Linked DNA regions of Homo sapiens: region 2 is linked to region 1. Evidence: promoter capture Hi-C in 16 types of primary human blood cells and fetal thymus (Javierre and others, 2016). All regions are on one chromosome and are shown on one strand. Each heading gives the region's core, a stretch centred on a gene start or on the middle of the fragment in contact. The rest is flanking DNA. Distances are from core to core; before and after follow the strand shown.

Region 1 (3,475 bases), core at 628-3,127:
ACACACACACACATACCAGCTCTCACTGAAATTGAAGCCAAACTATAACTGAAGATATCACACACACACACACACACACCAGCTCTCACTGAAATTAAGCTATAACTGAAGACATCACACACACACACACACACACACACACACACACCAGCTCTCACTGAAATTAAACTATAACTGAAGACAAATCCTGCAGGGTCACACACCAACTGCTGTTTGGGAAGTTCTTCAATGATTCCAACCTGGATTCCTCTTACTTTACTTGGATGCCAGCCACAACATTCCTGGGATCCTTTTCCATTTAAATAAGTTAGGGCTTGGAGATGGGGAGTGGGAGGAGCATGGGGAAGCCAAGGCCCAGAGAAGGTAAGCAACCGTCCTAAGATAACACAGCACTCTTGAGATGACAGCTCAGGTATGCAGTCTGCCGGCCCAAGCCCCATGGAACTGTGGGAAGGAACGCAAGTGATTCTCCTATTGGACAGGGGCAAGTGCATGGAAAAGGATGATGGTGAGGCTGAAAGCAGGAAAAGATTTGACCCATCTCCCAGGTATGAGCAGCCATCTCGGGGCACAGGATCCTAGAATCCTCAGCAAAGGCAGAAAAATGGCTAAGATGACCCTCACCAACCCATATGTGCCTTATCAGCCCAAGAGTGAGTCAGCAGGTGCGGCCAGCACCTTCCGTGTCTGGAAAAGAGACAGGATTGGGAGAAAATGTGGGAGGTTGCCCTTTCCCTGGGCCAAATTAGAATTCTAACCAAGGAGCTTCTTCAGTCTTGCTGGAGAGTAAAGTTCCCAGAGGGGCAGGGAAGAGTCCCAGATTCTACAGAGCTTCCCCTGGAAATGTCAGTGCATCCATCAGCTTTGCTCTTGAGCCTTGCTGAGTCTGAGGTGGACAAAGTGACCCACCCTCCTGGCCATCTTAGTGCCCACCTTGGATCGGGGGAAAAGGGGGTGGCACGCCGAGGCAGAAGTCCCAGAAGTCAGGGCAGCAGTCGGAGACCGTGCGGTTGCAGAAGAGGTCACAGTAACAGATGGCGCCCAGGTAGGGCAGGGCACAGTCGTCGGCACGGCCGCGGCAGCACAGGTCCTGCTCCTGGCAGTACCGGCCTCCCGCGTCCCGGATGCCCCGCAGGTGCAGACCCGGTGCTAGCTCCCGGCGCCCACGACCCTGCTGGGCACCCAGAGCCAAGTGGCCAGCCAGCGGCAGCAACAGCAGTAGCCCCAGTGGACATCGCCACATGGTGGCTCCTGGGCCCTGGGGGGCAGAGATGGTGGGCAGCAGAGACTCCCTGGAACACCAGGGATGAGTCTCCCAGTTTCCTGGAGCTGTGAGTTCAAGAGGGCCCAGCAGGGAGGGAGATCCCGATTCCTGAGTCCCCAGGCAGGACACGGGCAGAGGAGCCCCAGTGTGTGGGCCCTGGCTATAGGGGGATGGGGACTGGGCAGAAACGGAGCCCCTCCCTGACCTAGGCAGGGACCTTCAAGGACAAGGAAATGAGGGTGGTGGCATTCTTGGTGCTCCCACCCAACACTCATCCTGTGGACCCAAGGTCTTCTCTCCTGTCCTAGGTCTCTCTGCCCTCCAGCAGCCTCCATCCCTGACCTGGGTCCTTGACTTTGTGCTTTCCTGTCTCCCCCGGTCTTTTGGGTACACCTCTCTTCTGTTCCTGTGTCCCTCTGTCCCCCTCCACTGTCCCTCTCTCTGCCATCTGTCTTGGTTCCTCTACCTGCCCCCTCCCCCTGTTTCTTCTCTGTCTACACCTTCCGCCCTCTGAGCAGGGGAGCGTCCCTACCTGGTGAAGGTGTGGGCTGGGGCCCAGGCTGGCCCGCGCGCCTCCGCCTCCTGGCTCTGCGACCGCCGGACGCTCAAAGTCAAGAGAGGAGCGCGGGGCGGGGCGCTTTTTGTACCGCCCGCCCTCTGCACCGCCCCAGCAGTGGCGGAAGGGAGGGGCGCCTGGCTTGTACCTGGAGTAACTACCCCACAACTCATGGGCTTGCAGGGTGGAGAAACGACAAGCACACGATTGTCCTGGCTGGGTCTCCTGTGGCGGAAGCCGTTCCCTTAGGGGAACCCCAAGCAGGAAGGATTGCGGTTTCACACTGGGAAGGACTTCACAGTGGGCATCCCTGTGGAGCTGAGGGGCTCTGGTGGAGAAGGGGGGATATGGGCAGCCGAGCTCTGGGTTATGGACACAAGTTTGGGAAATGATGGGGAGGGCATGTGAGGCAAAATTCTGTAAGCCTCTCCTGACCCCTCGGTAATAAAAATAGCCATGCACACCCCTCTCCACTGTGCCCCCTAGGCTTGGGTGCCGCCCCCCTAGCCACCCCAGCTCCTAGGAATGATTGGAATTCCAGGAGTATGATCCTTAGGTGCCCTGGGCGGCTCATCCCTGGGAGGTGGGCAGGGTGTGGGGGTGGCCTCTGCACCCTTTGATCCCTTGTTGAGTCTGCCTTCCCTTGCCTGCTTGGGCCCCTAGACGAGCACTGCCCTCTCTAGCAAACCCAAGGGCATCCTGCTTGGCACCTGTCCCCCTCCAAGGGTCCAAAGGCAAGGGCCCTACCAGCTGGCACCCCCTGCAGAGGCCCTCCTTCCTGCCGCAGGCATAAACCTTTCTTTGCCCAGGCTGGCCTGGGACCCAAACAATGGGGCTTCTGTCCCGCCAGGTCTGCCGTCACCTTTTACCTCCCTATTGTGCAACGCCCTCTCTTCAACAGGTTGGGCCCAGGCCAGAGGTCTCTACCAGCAAAGAGGATAAAAGAGACTACACCTGGACAAACCCTCCCAGGCCCAGGCCTGAGCCTCACATGTGGCCCCGGGGAAGGCATCAGGGACTCCCTTTGCCCTCCCACTGACCTCCCTGCAAACCTCCCCCAAACCAAGGGGCATCCTCAGCTGGCCAGACCCTGGGGGAAGGGAGAGAGCCGAGGATCACCGGCACCTGTGGCTGGGTTACCCCTGCCATGGACCACTGGGTGGTGAGTCACCAAGGGGGTCCTGCCCTGGTGGTGGGGGTGGAGGGATAATATCCGGGGGCCCCAGCACTGGCACTAACACACCCAGGAGCTGCCCATCTGCTCCCTGCAGGGACCTGGGAGGACAAAGCCTAGGTGGGAAACTGAGGCTCAGAAGAATGCACTTGCCTGAGGTCGTGCAGCCAGAACACAGGCTCCCTGCCTGCCACCAGCCCACTCCTTTACCCCTAGTCACCCTTAGTCACCCACTACAGGTCTCAACGTGCTCCTGGTTGGGAAGTCTCTTTTCTTATCTAAACTCCATTCATCTTACTGCAGGACGGGCCCCTCGGTATTGGTAAATGTCATATCCTCAGGGTAAGAGATGAAAGCTGCTTTCTTTCAAAAGAGTTCGTGTCCAGAGTTCCTACTTTTATGGTACCTACTTTTTCATGGTTCTGGGGCTGGGGGCTTGTTTAGAGACATCTGGCCTCTCTTTTGCCCAAAATCACACCGC
Region 2 (3,475 bases), core at 351-2,850, 370 kb after region 1:
TCCCCCCATCACTTCCATCCCTCTAGCCACTCCTGAAATTCCGAACACTGCCTTAATTAATTCTCTCTACCTAAGTGCCCGCTTCATTAAGGTGCTTTCTGCCATGAGTTTTTGGCTTAATTATGTGGTGTTCTTCATTGTACTTAGTTGGGGAATCTGATTAATCACCATTTTATTTATCCAAATGTTCATTTATCTGCAGCCGGCGTCTCCTGGGAGAGCCTTGTTTTTGCTGAGCTTGCCCTTCCTGGATTGTCTTCCCCTTCACCCCTGTCTTAAGTGCTCCTCTTTGGAGGGCACCTTCTTTCCAGGCCTTGGCTGCCCACTCCAGAGCTTGCCGGGGTCCCGGCATCTGGGAGATGGGACTGGGGATGCCTCAGTAGTTTAGACGTGGGAACATGGGCAGAAGTAGAGTAGGAATTGACAAGAAGATGGGAGTCCTGGGAGAGTGGGACCTCAGGCATGGAGGATTCTGGGCCCTGTCTCAGCTTGCCAAGAAAGGCCTCAGCATCTCCTCCTGGTCTCCCACTTCCAGTCCATCCTCCTCCTGTAGCCAGACAGCACTGCACCCAAAGCACCCAGCTTCCATGTCTCTATGCTCAGACCTTCCCTGCCTCCTAGGGACCAGCAGAATAAAGCCCTGGGTCCAAGGTCCAGCCACATCTCTTCCCCACCCTGCCACCCCTCATTTCATTCATCCAGAGCCACCCCAGGCCTCCAAGCTGTCCATACCCTCTCCATATCATGTGACCAGCTTGTCCCAGTTTGCCCAGGACTTTTGGAACTTGTCCCTGAAAGTGCTGTGCTCTAAGAAACCCCATGGTCTCAGGCACACTGGGACAGTTGGTCATCCTCAGCTCAGGGTCACCCACAGTCTCAGGCAGACTCATGGGGGTGTGCTCATTTGTCGCCATCAGTTTTGTCTTTGAATGTGTTTGTTCACTTATAAAAATATTACTCATAGGCCGAGCGCAGTGGCTCACGCCTGTAATCCCAGCATTTTGGAAGGCCGAGGCGGGCTAATCACTTGAGGTCAGGAGTTCAAGACTAGCCTGGCCAACATAGTGAAACCCCATCTCTACTAAAAATACAGAAATTGGCCAGGCGTGGTGGTGGGTGCCTGTAATCCCAGCTACTCAGGAGGCTGAGGCAGGAGAATTGCTTGAACCTGGGAAGCAGAGGTTGCAGTGAGCCAAGATGGTGCCACTGCACTCCAGCCTGGGTGACAGAGCAAGACTCCGTCTCAAAAAAAAAAAAAAATTACTCCTCGATGTAAAAACCTTGCAGAAATATATCTGGCTGAATCTCAAAGGCCCCCATAATCCCATTCCCTAGAGTTAACAAATTAACAGTTTGATGATTCTTTGTTTTGTTGTTATGCGTGAAAACAGCGTTGTCCTACTCAAGTGGCTCTGCAGCGCCGTTTCAAACGTGGTAGCTTGGCCCTCTTCCCACACTCCATCATAATGGCTGCATTGTGTTGAATCGTGTGGAGGCACTGTCATTGACTGTGACCCCTTCTGAGGGACATCCACAGTGTTTTCATTATTTTTTATTTATTTTATTTTATTTTTTATTTTTTTGAGATGGAATCTCGCTCTGTCACCTAGGCCAGAGTGCAGTGGCGCAATCTCGGCTTACTGCAACCTCTGCCTCCCGGGTGCAAGTGATTCTCCTGCCTCAGCCTCCCGAGTAGCTGGGATTACAGCCACCATGCCTGTCTAATTTTTGTATTTTTTGTAGAGATGGGTTTCACCATGTTGGCCAGGCTGGTCTCGAACTCCTGACCTCAGGAGTCCGCCCACCTTGGCTTCCCAAAGTGCTGGGATTACCCGCGTGAGCCACTGCCCCTGGCCTTTTTTTTTTTTTTTTAAGACGGAATCTCGCTCTGTCACCAGGCTAGAGTGCAGTGGTGTGATCTCAGCTCACTGCAACCTCCACCTCCTGGGTTCAAATGATTCTCTTGCCTCAGCCTCCCGAGTAGCTGGGACTACAGGCGCACACCACCACGCCCAGCTAATTTTTATATTTTTAGTAGAGACAGGATTTCACCATGTTGGCCAGGATGGTCTCAATCTCTTGACCTCGTGATCCGCCCACCTTGGCCTCCCAAAGTGCTGGGATTACAGGGGTGAGCCACTGTGCACAGCCTGATTTTTTTTTTTTTTTTTTTATACAGAGTCTCCTCTGTCGCCCAGGCTGGAGTGCGGTGGCACAATCTCAGCTCACTGCAAGCTCCACCTCCTGGGTTCACACCATTCTCCTGCCTCAGCCTCCTGAGTAGCTGGGACTACAGGTGCCCACCACCACACCCGGCTAGTTTTTTGTGTTTTTAGTAGAGATGGGGTTTCACCGTGTTAGCCAGGATGGTCTCGATCTCCTGACCTCGTGATCCGCCCACCTCGGCCTCCCAAAGTGCTGGGAATACAGAGATGAATGAACCACCCTGCCTGGTCCCCGGCCTGATTTTTTTTTAGACTTCCCCTTGGTAGCACCCTGGGCCGTTTGGCCCAGGATTTATGCAAATTAATGTAGATATATGCTAATTAGATCACTGCCAGGCACTTTGTTCTAATGGAGTTGCCAGCTCAGAGGTGCAGTGGGTTGGATCTGCCCAGAAGGGGCTTGCAGAGCCCCCCAGCTGGGGAAGGGGTGGGGATGGGTCAGTGGTCACTGAGATGAGGGGATGGGGTTACCATGGAGACAGAGGCCAGGAGCCTGCTGCTGCCTCCTGACAAGACCAGGGCTGGCCCAATCAGTCGCATCCTGGGCCTCCCTAGCAGCTCCAAGCTGGTCTCTGAGGGCTAATGATGCAGAAGGTGAGCAGATGCTCCCTGGCTCCCCAGGCCCAGCGGAGGTAGAGGGCTGGGCCGCAGCAGGAGGGCGTGCAGACAGGCAGATGGCAGTCAGGGGATTGGGGGTCCAGGACCTGTCCCGAGGAGGAGGAAGATTACCCCTCCAGGGTGGAAGGCACCTCCAGCAGTGCCATAAGGGGTGAGACTCCCAAATGCTGGGGCATGCAAACAGGCTGGGCGGCCAAATCTCAAAGAGCACCTTGGTAAGAAGTGGTGGAAAAGAGCAAGGGTTTGGCCCCAGACTGGTTGGAGTCAGCCGTTCTGCGTCCCCTTAGGCAAGCCTGCCACTGCTCTGGGCCTCAGTTTCCTCATTTATAAAAAGGGGTAGGATTGGCCGGGCGCGGTGGCTCACGCCTGTAATCCCTGCACTTTGGGAGGCCCAGGAGGGAGGATCACGAGGTCAGGAGATCGAGACCATCCTGGCTAACACGGTGAAACCCTGTCTCTATTAAAAATACAAAAAAAAATTAGCCGGGCATGGTGGCGGGCACCTGTAGTCCCAGCTACTTGGGAGGCTGAGGCAGGAGGATGGCGTGAACCCGGAAAGCAGAGCTTGCAGTGAGCTGAGATAGTGCCACTGCACTCCAGCCTCGGCGACAGAGAGAGACTCCGTCTCAAAA

What was found. The method cuts DNA at HindIII sites, captures the fragments that hold promoters and counts their contacts. A CHiCAGO score of 5 or more calls a contact.
Region 2: a fragment that was not itself captured here is called in contact with the fragment with the promoter of TINAGL1 in region 1 in 1 of 17 cell types (M0 macrophages); the score reaches 5.1 in M0 macrophages.

What each region holds. Positions count from the first base shown.
Region 1 is chr1:31,574,917-31,578,391 of GRCh38, reverse strand. TINAGL1 (tubulointerstitial nephritis antigen like 1) reads right to left here and starts at 1,877. Exons shown (of 12, transcript NM_022164.3): 1 at 1,797-1,877; 2 at 934-1,258. The coding sequence starts at 1,243. LOC105378626 (a long non-coding RNA gene) reads left to right here and starts at 495. Exons shown (of 6, transcript NR_188671.1): 1 at 495-548; 2 at 2,722-2,982. RefSeq lists an enhancer at 1,346-2,066. The HindIII fragment of the contact is 15,245 bases long and covers 1-3,475 here.
Region 2 is chr1:31,201,373-31,204,847 of GRCh38, reverse strand. The region is part of intron 1 of NKAIN1 (sodium/potassium transporting ATPase interacting 1); the gene reads left to right. Among named protein-coding and RNA genes, the nearest start is that of NKAIN1, 37 kb to the left of the region's middle. The HindIII fragment of the contact is 8,220 bases long and covers 1-3,475 here.